3 separate regions of the Homo sapiens genome follow, and regions 1 and 3 are each linked to region 2. Evidence: promoter capture Hi-C in human tissues and cell types (Jung and others, 2019). All regions are on one chromosome and are shown on one strand. Each heading gives the region's core, a stretch centred on a gene start or on the middle of the fragment in contact. The rest is flanking DNA. Distances are from core to core; before and after follow the strand shown.

Evidence for each region. Contacts are between HindIII fragments. The study calls those that stand out against the background at their distance.
Region 1: a contact is called between a fragment that was not itself captured here and the fragment with the promoter of DRD2 in region 2, in 2 of the 25 tissues and cell types used here (bladder and mesenchymal stem cells).
Region 3: a fragment that was not itself captured here is called in contact with the fragment with the promoter of DRD2 in region 2 in 2 of the 25 tissues and cell types used here (H1 embryonic stem cells and adrenal gland).

What each region holds. Positions count from the first base shown.
Region 1 is chr11:113,319,467-113,324,030 of GRCh38, forward strand. It overlaps TTC12 (tetratricopeptide repeat domain 12), which reads left to right. Exons shown (of 22, transcript NM_017868.4): 3 at 3,822-3,985; 4 at 4,528-4,549. Among named protein-coding and RNA genes, the nearest start is that of TTC12, 7.2 kb to the left of the region's middle. The HindIII fragment of the contact is 4,616 bases long and covers 1,007-4,564 here.
Region 2 is chr11:113,472,810-113,477,071 of GRCh38, forward strand. It overlaps DRD2 (dopamine receptor D2), which reads right to left and starts at 2,589. Exons shown (of 8, transcript NM_000795.4): 1 at 2,267-2,589. It overlaps LOC105369501 (a long non-coding RNA gene), which reads right to left. Exons shown (of 6, transcript XR_948024.2): 6 at 2,720-3,044. The HindIII fragment of the contact is 27,627 bases long and covers 1-4,262 here.
Region 3 is chr11:113,621,841-113,626,461 of GRCh38, forward strand. All of the region lies in intron 1 of LOC107984390 (a long non-coding RNA gene), which reads right to left. Among named protein-coding and RNA genes, the nearest start is that of TMPRSS5, 82 kb to the right of the region's middle. The HindIII fragment of the contact is 9,626 bases long and covers 1-4,621 here.

The sequences.
Region 1 (4,564 bases), core at 2,065-4,564, 150 kb before region 2:
TAAAAGACATGAAAGAAGAGCTAAATAAATGGAGACGTATTTAATCCTAGGAAGACTTATTTGGTAAAAATGTCAATTTTTAAAATATTCTATGCAGTAAATACAATTTAGATCAAAACCCGCAAAGTAGTATGTACTAAAATTCAGCAAGCTGATTCCAAAGTTTACGTGGAAGAGCAAAGGACCAAGAAGAGCCAAGAAAACTCTGCAGGAAAAAAAAAAAAAGCAGGACAACTTTCCCTACCTGACATTCAAGATTTATTATAAAGCCATAGTAATCAATGCATGGAGGTTTTCGTGCTGGAAAGGACAATCAGGGGAAAGGAATGAAGAGCCTGGAGAAGATTTGCACACATAACAGGGATGATGAGACACATTGCTGGCAGGGACTTCTCAACAAATAATGCTCCTGCCCTACGTGAAAGTCAACTCTAGGTGAATTACATACCTTAGTAAGAAAAAAACTTTAAAACTTTTATAAGACACCATAAGAGAGTATATTTATAACCTTACTGACACAAAAGACCTAAATTGTAAAGGAAAAGATGGTATATTTAACACACTAAAATTAAAAAGAAAATCTCTTCAACAACATATTCCATAAAAACAAATGAAAAGACAAAGAATACCCAAGGGGAAGATGTTTGGAAATACATGTAACCAGTCCAGAATATATACAACTGATACGGGTAGGAGATGGGAATAGTGGATAGAAGAGGGTGGTTCCCTGGCAAAGACCCCACCCTCAAGCCGGGAGATCTGCAGCGCTAAGTGGAAACAGGCATTTCTGTTTTCGTGCCCAAAAAGTTGCCTTTTGGCCTGCCATGCTCCCCTATCCTGTGCCCATGTAAACTCTGAACCCCAGGCTCCAGAAGCAGACGAGCAGGTGAGATGAGGACACAAGCAGACAAATGGCAGAACGACACAGTAGAGAAAAGAGGAGGAATGTCTGAACGCCGAGAGGAGTTTGGCTGGGAGCAGCCAGAGGGGAGTTGGGCCACTGGATGGCCAGGCTCCAGGGGAAGATCATCTTTCCCCTCCATTCCCCCTTCCAGCTCCCCATCCATCCCACTGAAAGCCACCTCCACCACTCAGTAAAACCCCACATTCATCCTTTAGTCCTGTGTGTGACCTGATTCTTCCGGGGATGCTGGGCAAGAGCTCGGGATACAAAAAGCTGTCACTTCCCTCTGCCCTTGTGAAAAGGCAGATGTCCGTCAAGCTGGTTAACAATCAAGTCGTCCGCAGATGGCAGGGCTAAAAGGACACGCTGTAACACGTGCCCAACTGGGCTCCTGCACTTGTCCGTCTGCGTTCTCCCCCTCCCCTCAGGGGTTTGAGCAGTGGTGGTGACTAAACAGGCAAGCCACACCCCTGTCGCATGTCCTGCGAGGGGGATCAGAGAACTCCCCTGTTTCACAATCAAATCAACCAGGCATGGTGGTGTGTGCCTGTAGTCTTTGCTACTCAGGAGGCTGAAGCAGGAGGATCGCTTGAGCCCAGGGGTTCAAATCGAGCCTGGACAACATAGCAAGACCATCTCTTAAAAAAAAAAGAATTTTTTAAAAAAGAAATTATATTAACTAATAAGAAAGAGACAATGACCCAATAGAAAATTGGCCAAGGATAGGAGTAGGCTCTTCGTAGAAATCCAAATGGGTGCAAATCAATAAGAAGATGCTCAATTCCAATCAAATTCAGCGAAATGCAAATTAAAACAATGAGATACCATTCCCATCCATTACATTGACAACAATTAAAAAGTTTAACCCAGCAAGTGATGATAAGAATGTAGAAGAATGGGAACTTCCTCTTGTACTCTTTTGTAGGAGTAAAAATTGGTACAGCCATATCCTGAAGGATATGTAACATGTGCACAAGGAAATATGTACATACAGGTATTCAATTCAGCATTTATTTACTTTAGAAAAAACTGAAAAACCACCTGGCTATCAATAAGAGAATGGATTAACTATGGTATATATAATGGTTTAAATGAATCAACTGGAACCATGTGTATCAAGAACACATCTCTAAAGCATCTTAAGAGAAAAAAGTAGGTTGCAAATGAATGCACATTTTATACAACTATTTTAAAAAATTGTTTAAATATTACATACACAAATATTCTGGTAGATTGCAAGAATGGTTACAAATTCCTTTCTTCCCATCAAGAGTGGAGCCTATTTCTCTGCCACTTGAATCTGGGTTGGCCATGTGTGTTGCTTTGGCCAAAAGGATGTTTGCAAACATGACACAAGCAGAGGCTTGAAAAGTGCATTTGAATTAGGGCTTGCACTCATACCACTCATGAGAAAGTAAGACACACTTACCCGGGTTGCTTGCATTTCTCAAGCCAACAGCCAGCAGACTTTCTAAAGCAGAGCCACTTAGATGACTGACAGTTGACCATGGATATATGTGTGAGTCCAGCTGAAACCAGAACTGGCCAGCTGAATTCAGCTCAAATTGTTGACATAGATAATTGTAAACTAAGCCACAAAAATGGTGGTTTGTTTCAAACCACTAAGTTTTGATGTGGTGTGTGATGCAGCAAAATCTAAATGATACAAATACTAAGTATTAAAGCATGCTGGAGAAAAGATACCATCAACTTATAAATGGCATAGAAACAAAAATATTATATTACTTTCGGTATGCTTGAAATATTGTACAATTAAAAATTTATAATTTCCTTGAAGACTCAGTGGGAAATGAAGAAATTAGAACAGGAAAATGAATTAAGAAGTTTAATTGTGAAGGGGAGGAGACAGAGCATTAGGAGAGATTTAAAGTACATAATTTAGAAGGAAGCTGGTCGAATGGAATAGGTTGAAAATATTGCGCAATAGGATTATTAATTGGTGATGCAGCGTTCCTGATTATGCAAAATATGACAATGGAATCCTGGGCCCAGGATGAGGGACTAACCTTACAGAAGAATGGGCACCTTTTCCTGGTAGTAAGGAAGGATGGATGTAGGTATAGGCAGTTTTGTAGTTTTAATAGCAGGAAGTCGATGGCATCTCTTTCCTCTCTGAATTGATAAATAAGGGCATCTTTTTGAGATGGTCAGGTTTAGATTGCAAACTGTTAAAAGTCATTGGGGGAGTGACAGGATATCTTGCCCAGGATAACAAGGATTGCTGGGCATCACTGAAGGTCCAGTTGAGTTTGAGTTTGGACCAGTCCCCCAGGCATCTATCTGTCTCCCTCAGTACATAGCATTCCTAATGCAGACTGGTAGAATTGGGTAATTGGAATTATGTAGAGCTGGAATTTTGTCTGTTAGGTGAGATAGCAGGGCAAGGGAGTTGAGTATATGGGCAGGATGGCTGCTGAGTGATTGACCATGGAATCTAAGCTGGATAAGCAGTAAAGTGAAGACAGGTGAGGATAGGGTTAAGGGCTGCTGTTTTGCGATTTTGAGCTGCCTGTACTTACATGTTTGTCTCCCACACAAGTTCATAAACTCTTCAAAAAAGGATCTTTTTTTATTCATCATTGTTATCTATAGCATCAGCATAATATCTAACTCATAATGAGCTCTCCATAAATTATTGTTGAATTGAATAATGGCTTAAAACTCTGTTCCTTAAAGCTAATAGCTATACTCACCTGCAACTTTTTCTAGGCAAAAAAAAAAAAAAAAAAACCTGTTGTTAATTTTTTCTCATTGGTTCTGCTTGCTCTATTTTGCTTTCTATTGCTCTATTTTTTTCTTTAAGATCTTTCCCATGCATTTTATGCACCATCCTTTCTAGTGAATAGAGTCTTTTGAATATCTTGTTTGATTAAGTCACACCTGATTTCTTCTCTAGCCAATTTAATTCAGGAGATGAATTCTGATGACCCAGTTGTGCAACAGAAAGCTGTCCTGGAGACAGAAAAGAGACTACTGCTTATGGAGGAAGACCAGGAGGAGGATGAATGCAGGACCACCTTGAACAAGACTATGATCAGTCCTCCACAAACTGCTATGAAGGTTTCTTTTTCTATTGAGAAGTTATATAAGTACTTACAGTGAGAAGACCTACACCTAGGCAGTAGTTTAATCTCAAACTGTCCAGCAAGGCTGAAATGGTCTTTTGTTTCTTAGATTTATTTTTTATAAGAAAGTATAAAATTTGATTTTTTTTTTCCTTTGATCTTTCTGGGTTATCTTTAAACAACCCTTTGGATCTATTTTAATGGAAATTTCCCCTCTCCACCCCCTGAGCTTGTGTGATATATTTAAGCTGTACCTTTAAGGTAATGTATTCTAACTCATTTCCAACTCATAAGCCACAGCTGAGGTCCCTTGACCTGGGCAGCCTTGTTTTGCAGACTCGGTCCCATAGCAATTGTGCCCATACTCAGATCTCCTGATTTAAAGCAAGCCCCATGAATTCTGAGCCCTTCAGTTTTGATGGTTAAAAGAAATGACCTCTTGTTTGTAATTGATTTGCCTTCTTGGTTTATATACATATAAATTAGAGTGGTTTTTGAAATTTGTTTCTTTGTTTTTATGGTAACCTACGTCTACAGAGTGCAGAAGAAATAAACTCAGGTAAGGACAGCATCT
Region 2 (4,262 bases), core at 1,339-3,838:
GACCCCCATAGAGGGACAGTTAGTATTTACATAAGTCAACCTGAAGCCATATTGGTGATTCCTTAAAAGGGCCAAAAATTTTAGAAAGAAGAAAAGCCCAGGAAGATCCTGGGGGAGAGGAGATTGGATTGCATCCTTAATTTCAGCAAAGATTTAATCAGGGGGATGGTCTTTCTACCAAGAGTCTCACACTTGAAGAATTTAACAGGTATAACAGCAGGAGACAAAGGGTGAGATTAAATACCTTAATTTTATAAATTTCAAATGTATGAAATTTAGGAATATTTAAGATATCAGCAAATGGTTGCCAAGGTACATGATTCTTTTAACTCTTAGAAATGCATTTTTATATCTTCAAGGGATTTTCTCAGATAGAATACCTGCTACCAATTTTATGTAAAATAAACTTGATTTCCATTTTCAAAATAAAATAAATGTATACAGACTCTCTAAGGAGTCTCAACTTTTTGGGAGGTAATTTGCTAATTCAGTGTACACATGAATCACTCAGAAACATTGTTAAAATATAAATTTCCTGGGCCTCCGCTTGAGATTCTCATTCAGCAGTTTTTCAAGGAAGAAGCAAAAATACGCATTTTTAACCAGCTTCTCAGGGAATTCATTAAAAAGAAAAAAACCCTTAGAGAAATGCTGCCCGGACTTCTACAACAAATCAGAACCTCTCCACTTTCTGGGCACCTCAGGCTGTGCAGGGAAGGTAGAAGGAACTCAATGATCTTTAAGAGCTGGGACTACCCTGGCCCTCATTTGGTTCTAGGTCTAACCCTCCCAAACCACTTCCTTGTCAGATGTCTGCATTCAGAGATGGCATCAAAACCCCCTGCAACAAATAATCCAGGAATTTTGAACACTAAGGAGGGAAGTCCAAGGCAGGGACTGAAACCCAGGAAAGCAGCTTGCTGATTTTCTTGAAACTGGTCATGCTGACCACAGTCTCTCTATCTGGCCACCCTCATCAAACAGCTGCATGAGGGAAAGACGATAAGCATGATTTCTTTTTCAAGTGGTCCTAATGCTGCAGGATGAATCAGAGATAAGCATGCATATTTGCATTTGAAGCAGGGTGGGAGTGGGGAGAATCGTTGAACATCTAGCTCCCTAAGGAGGAGCAAGGATTGGCCTAAAAGGTTTGTAGCCTGGTCAAAATACAGAAAGGCTTGGATCTGCAGAAGGATCTGGAGTGGGATCCACAAAGTGCCTTGCACCTCACTCCCTCACCCCCTCACCCAACCTCAAGAGCCACCGAAAAAAAAGTAGTGGGGTGTCAGGTGGGGCAACAGTGACTTGCTCAGACAGCTTCCTTGTGGCTGAGAGCAAGCGCCTGTCCCCACGGAGCTGCACTGCTGTGACTTGTGTCCATGGTGAAGCCTGTTATGTAGACGCACACGCACCCTCTTACCTCTGCTCTTCAAGAGGAAGCACTCAAGGGCTGCCCGCCTCAGACAGGGATAGGGAAGCGCTCTGTCTGGTGCTTAGAGGTGTCTCTTGTCTCCGCATACCACCCTAGAGGGGCTCTCGGTCCATCATAGAGCCGGGCCGAGAGCCGGGCGGTCACCCTCCGCTACTGCCGCCACCGTCGCCTGCACTGCCGGGTAGAAACGGGTCTGGCACCCAAGCCTCCCTCCCCGACTAGGTGTCAACCCAAGAGAAGGCGAAGGAGAACGAAAGTTCAGGACCAAGGACAGCGGCAACCGTGGGAGCGGGAGAATCCAGCCAGAATCTGCCTCTCCCCCATCCTTAGCTTCTGCCTTAGAAACTGAAAAGGGTCAGGTCGCACCAACACAGAGTTGCCAAAAACAGCCCTTCTTCCTCCGGAAGAAGTCGGAAACTCTGGCCGCGAGCCCCGGGTCTCGCGCTTGGGTGCTGGGGGAAGTGCCCTCCCGAGATTGTGGGGAGCGGCCTCCCTCCCGCCCTCCGATGCCGCGGCTCCGCCGTGCTGCCCTGGGCGCCCCGCGGGGAGGCTGCCCCAGCTGCGCCCGCTCGTGCTCGGGGAGAGGATTCCCTTCTAAGTGGCGAGGAGGCTACTGAGAAGGAGGGAGAGGGGATAGCAGCCGCGGGCTCCAGACGCCCTCTGCCCCCGCCCGACGGGGAGCCCATGCAGAGCCGGATCCCAGGCGGGCGCTCCCGAGCAGGCGGCCAGGAGTGGCCGCACAAACTTCTGGTCCTGGCCTCGCTCCCCTTGGAGGTCCCTCCTCCTCTCCCCGTGACACTGAGTCGCCCGCCGCTCCATCCGGCCGGTGCTTACCTTCAAGCCATAGGGCGCCCGGGGGCAGAGACGGCGCCGGCTGCTTGAGGCTTCCAGCTCCCGCCGCATCCACGCGCGGCCGCCCCTCCGGCAGCCGTCCGGGGCCGCCACTCTCCTCGGCCGGTCCCTGGCTCCCGGCCCCGCCGCGCCGTTCAGAGCCCCGGCGGGCAGCAGCTCGGCCGGCTCTGGCCCGCGGGGAGCAGTGGACGGGCCGCGGCGGGGCGGGGCGGGGCGGGGCCGGGCGCGGGGCGGGCGGGCAGGAGGGAGCGCGGGGACGGGGCGGAGGCGGCGCGGTGCGCGCGTGAGGCTGCCGGTTCGGCACTGAAGCTGGACAGCTCTGCGGCGCCCGAGCGCGGGGAGCGCGGGAGGGAGGTGCCCCGGTCCCCGCCCCTGAGACAGGCCCCGCCCCCGCCCCCCACCAAAGGAGCTGTACCTCCTCGGCGATCCCCGGCCTGAACGGGTAGGAGGGGTTGGGGGATTCCGCCATCCCTTGTTTTGAGGCGGGAACGCAACCCTCGACCGCCCACTGCGCTCCCACCCACACCCAGAGTAATAAGCTGTGATTGCAGGCTGGGTCCTCACCGTCTGCTCGCCAGTCTTCTCCTTTGAGGACTCAGAAGCCAAGGGTTGCGGGAGGCACCACCCATCCAGCAAGTCAGGCAAGGAGAGGAGGTGTTGGAAGAGGTCCGCATCCGTTTTCTGACTTCAGGTCTTGGAATCTATGTAGTCAGTTCTATTGCTGGACTCATCCAAAGGAAAAAGCCTGTTTGGAGTTGACCTGACATGGAAATGCAAAAGGAGGCCTCAGGGGTTCCAGCTCACCCTTGACTCCAAACTGAGGTGTGTGAGGCAGGGAGTGGGGAGAGGGAGAAAGAGATAGAGTGGTGAAGGGTGTTCCGCTGCTACCCTGCCCACTGTCATTTGGGCTGCAGAGGAACCTCGTTCTTCTCCCCTTTTCTTCCTCTCTCCTTTTCTTTCTTTTCTTTTCTTTTCTTTCTTTCTTTCTTTCTTTCTTTCTTTCTTTCTTTCTTTCTTTCTTTCTTTCTCTTTCTTTCTTTCCTTTCTTTCTTTCTTTCTTCCTTCCTTTCTTTTTCTTTCTTTCTCTTTCTTTTCTTTCTTCTGCAGCAATTAGTTACCAACTGTCCTCAGTTTGCCAGATTCTGTGTCAGATTCAGAAGTCACACACAGAAAGAAAACCAGGCCCCTGATCCCGCACCCTGGCAATCCAGAGAGGGGACCCCCAGGGAAATAACTGAGGCTTAAACAGGTGCTGTGAAGCACAAAAAAGCGAGACTTTACAGGAACCGGGCATTGAAGGAGCAACACCAGTTCCCAAGGGGAGAAGGTGGCACAACACTCCAGGGAGAGGGAAGAGCAGGGGCAGAGGACTGACTCTGCAGAGCAGGGAGTCGGCCCTGCATGGCTGGAATCCAGCCTCTCTGGGCCACAAGGATTAACTTCATCTCAGCATTTCCTCCAATGACACACACAATTATAGAAAGTGAGGGCTGGAAAGGACCTTAACATTCATCCAATTCCGCCTCACCTCAGAAGGGAGAACTGAGTCCCAGAGAGATGGAGTGTCCTTGCAAATCCCACAGAGTCCAGCACTGAACCGTCCCCCTCTCCAGAGGCACAAAACAGCACCTCTCTCAAATGCAGCCATCTCTGGAGGCACGGGAGCAGAGGAAGCTGTGGGCTCCCCACCTCACCCCACCATGACTCTTCCCAGCTCCTGCCCCTGGATCTTGCTGATCTGGACTGGCCTCCATTTGCCTGCAGGCTCTATAGGGAGATATTACACCAATAGGAGTCCTAGAATGTTGCCATAATTGCCTTTAAGGGATCAGCCATTACAGATATGGTTGACATCCCAGTGTTTCCCTTGTATACCCTTGGACCATTCTTTCCTAGGTTTAATCCACATAAGGAGATATTTGGTACCTCCCAACTCAGCACCTCTACATAGGTTCAGGGATGGGTCAGACTAGCCAGA
Region 3 (4,621 bases), core at 66-2,565, 150 kb after region 2:
GACATAAAGTAAAAAAACTATTTCTTGAAGCAGCAAAGAGCACACATAAAAGATACTTTTGAGAGCTAGATACTGAACTAGATATTTTGAGAGCTAGATACTGAACTAGATATTACAAAAATCACAGAAATTACATATAAATTGATTTCTAAGAAAGGAAACAATAAATATTATGTGTTGTGTTATACAAAATTAGAGCATGTGTTTATGTCCACATTCACTGTGATTTTTAACACTGACATGTGTTGAAGAGAATCCATTAGTGTTTCAGTAAGAGTCCAAATATTGAGTAGAATGTCAGAATTGCTTAGCTGTTTGTGTAGGAATTTTAAAACAAAATCAGGTTTGTTATAATTTATTTGTTTTTTAATAAATCTGTAGACTTGCCCCTCTTGGGGAGGGCTTTGGATGAACAGTTAGGGCTTCATAGGGTTTTGGAGCCAGGAGTGACAACAAAAGCATTTTTAGAAGATAAATCTTTTACTGAGTGCAGGGTGGAAAACATGCGGAAGAAACTGGAGGTGTCAATAAGCCAGTTAGAGGGCTTTACAAAGATTCAGAAAGTGTGAGGACCTGGAGCAATAGCAGTGAAATTGGAGAAAGACAGGGGAAATAAATATATTGAAAAAGGAGGTATAGCTGGAGAAAAGGAAAAAAAGAGAAAATATATTGACATCTTACGCCTGGGTACCAGGGAGGACAGAGGCCTGTTGGGGTGTTAAGAGGAGCTGCTGGGGAAGAAGGAAGGTGACAATGACACTCCACGGTTGAAAAAGCCAGGACAGCAGAGAGGACATCGTTCTTGGAGGGAAAACTGTGTTTCCAAGGTGTAGAAGCTGAAATATGGTCAGTATGTCTGTAAAACAAAGAAACACGTAGGCCACCCTGAGAGGGGCTTCCTGGAGACCACCGTGGTATCCAGTAAAGAGCACAGCATGTGGGGTCAGGAGGATCTGCTTCTGAACCCAGGTTCTCCCCTCATGAGCTATGTGACCTTAGGAAATTGATCTAACCTTTCTGGGCTTCAGTTCCTTCCTCTGTAAAATGAAATCAACAATAGATTCGCTGTTCATTAAACAGAAGTAATTATTTCTTCTTGATTCTTTTTCTAATATAATTTTTTATTTTTTAATTTTAATCTATTTATTTATTTATTCTGAGACTGGTTTTTGAGACTGGCCAATTTTCGTATTTTTGGTAGAGATGGGTTTGCACTATGTTGCCAAGACTGGTCTTGAACTCCTGGGCTCAAGCAATTCTCCTGTCTCGGCCTCCCAAATTGCTGGAATTATAGGCATGAGCCACTGTGCCCAGCCACTGTTCTTGGTTCTTTAAGACTATTCCCCAAACATCTTCAAAATAGCCTTTCTTAGAATTGCAAGGGAAATCATTTTTAATCTCCTCTCCCTTGGCCCATCTGTATAACAAAGATAATATTGTTTACATCTGTGGTTCTCAAATGTTATCTGTGCATCAAAATCATTTGAAATATTTGTAAGATACAGATTCCTGTGCCCTAATTCAACAACTTCTGATTCAGTACTTCTGGGCGAGAAGCCAGGCATCAATATCTTTCTAGTTAAGAACCACTAATTCACATCAAAAAGCTGGAATGGAGATGAAATAAAATGAGCATGGCAAACCCACATAGCACAGTTCCTGGCACACAGTGCTTGTTTTATAAGTGGTACTGGTTGGGAGTGGTGGGGTTGGTGATGGGGTGGGCCATGGAAGTGGGCAGGGTGATGGTGGGTGATGGTGATGAAAGTTGGGTTATGTTAATGGAGGTGGTAAGTGATGATCGGGGGTGGTGGATGGTGGAGGCCAGGTTGTCGAAGATCCCTGACTCAGCCAGAAGATTGAAACTTTGGTGGAGCATGAGGAGGCAGTGAATGATGGGACATTCCCAGTGGAAACAAATGTTCATTCTTGCTTCCATTAGGGATTTGTTCCTGGACTAAATAAGAGGAGAGGCAGCTCTTTGGAGATTTATTCTCCTTTCCTCTGAAGTAAGAAATACAACTGAAACTACAAACTGCAAAACTGTATTATGACCTGCAAAATAGATTAATTGTATCAAACCATATCTTGCAACACCAGCAAAGATCAAACTACTTTAAGACCAGCACACTGGTGTGTTGTATGCACAGAGGCTTGATGCCAAGACCACGGGGAAAAGGATTCAGCAGTGACTCTGGACTCAGGCTTTAGAGACAAGACCCCTGACTATTCCAGAAATTCACTTTGTTTATAAATTCTGACCAACCCCAGTCCAGACTTCACTCACAAATTTCTACCCTATGACCACTCTATCACAAAAACCCATTAACTTCCCCATTTTGAGCCACCACTGAGTCTCTGTCAAAACAATGCTCCCTCATGCCGTGAAAGAAAGAGCATTGTTTTAAGCATTATTAAACATGCCATGAAAGAGGGAGCATGGTTTCCCAGTGGTCTTTGGAAGAGGGTTTCAACAGGCAGACAGGCACCCATGCCTCTTGCTCTTAGACTGTCAACTTGGTTCATGGAAACAGCCTGTCCAGCACCTGCACTCACTGAGTATGGAAAATGGCTCACTGTGGACCAAACACTTCAGAGCAGCCAGTGAGAATCAAAATTTTGGGATGTTTAGGTAAATATTCAAAGTTAAATGTATTAGAGTCTTTTCCTATATGTTTTGAAAAGCAGCCAGGGGTCCAGAGGAAACCTCCACAGGACACTTGCCTTTCAATGCTTGGAGCTCTCTGGGCACTTCTTGTGGAGAAAAGGTGGGTAGAAAGGCAGGGGCAGCACGTTTCTTGTCTGAAGGGCCCATGGCTGGAGGAAGAGCATCCCTGAGGAGCCTGCAGGTGGTGGCGAGGAGAGAGGGGTACTCTGAGGGCGACCTAGAGCACCTACCTGCTTCTCCTCCTCAGCCCCAGCTCCTGCTCTAGAGGGTTTCACATTCGCTAACCCCTCCAGCCTTTGTCCATGTTGCTTGTGAATCGATGTCTTAGTCTGCTCAGACAGTTATAACAAAATACCATATTCTGGTGGCTTAGAAACCACAGAAATTTATTTCTTACAGTTCTGGAAGCTGGGAAGTCCAAGGTCAAGGCTCCTGCAGATTTGACATCTGAAGAGGGCTAACTTTCTGGTTCATAGATGACACTTTCCCACTATGCCCTCACTTGGTGGAAGGGGCAAGGCAGCTCTCAGGGATCTCTTTCATAAGGTCACTAATCCCATTCATGAGGGCTCCATCCTCATTACCTAATCACCCCCAAAGGCCCCATCTCCTACTACCATCAACTTGGGGGTTTTCAACATAGGAATTCTGGAGGAACATGAAAATCGAGCCCCTAGCAATAGGTATTAAGGTTATGATGGTTTAATATTCAAACAGAAAGGAGTGAACCATGCAGGCAAATGGGAACTTCTTTACCATTCGGTTTGGGAGATTTACCATTACCTCAAAGCAGAACTTGAATAGCCAAATTTATGCAAGTACGTTTTCCTTTTATTTCTTTCTTCCAGTGAGTTGTTTCAAAAATATCTTAGTAGTTGTCTACATAAAAGCCTTTTGTGGTTTTCTGATAACCTAATGCTGTCCTCCATACCCCAACATGTAAAATATGGGCCCTCTCAAGGGTGACCCCATCTCCCTGTTGCCTTAGGAGTCTGTTCCCAGTGTAATTATAGCCTCTCTTTCACTCCCAAAACTGCTTCAGTTTGTGTAATAAATTATGTGGTGACCCTAGCAGTAATCTGATATTGTCAAAGGAGAACTAATGATATGGAACATGTGTTGAGTATGTAAACTTTTAAAATTATTTTTTATTGAGCATTAATTGTGTGTGTGTGTGTGTCTGTCTGTGTGTGTGTGTGTGTCTATAGACACATATATTTTCAGTCCTCACCAACCCTCTGGGAAGTTAAGCAAAATTAATGTTCCCATTTTATATTTGAAAAAAATCAAGGCACAGAATAAATAACTTGCCCAATATTGCACAATGTAACTTCAGAACCTGCACTCCTTACCACTATTTATTGCTGCCTCCTGAGATGCTGGATCTTTACTCCAGAGAATCTGGGTGGTCAGAGAGGGTTTGATTTAGACATGGTGGTCCTGAAACTTAGGAATAAGAGAAAGAAGAAGAATTCAAAGTGGAAAAACAGAAAAATAGATGGTCCCCTCTTATATTTATTTCTTACAGCTGCCATTTCTAGGGCTGCAGATGGCAGTCCTAGGAAATAAATACAGGATGTCTTGATAGCTGAAGACAACAGAAATTTAGGCCAGGCACAAAGACTCATGCCTGTAACCCCAGTGCTTTGGGAGGCCAAGAGCTTGAGACCAGCCTGGGCAACATAGTGAGACCCCCATCTCTACACAGAGTTTTTTAAAAATTAGCCAGTCATAGTAGTGCATGCCTGTAGCTACTTAGCTACTCAAGAGACTGAGGTGGGAAGATTGCTTGAGCCCAGGAGTTTGAGGTTACAGTGAGCTATGATCATGCCACTGCACTCCAGCCTGGGTGACAAAGTGAGACCCTGTCTCTAAAAAAATTATATAAATATACATGTATTCCTCTAGTTCTGGAGGCTAGAAGGCCAAAATCAAGGAGGAGGACCCTCCCTT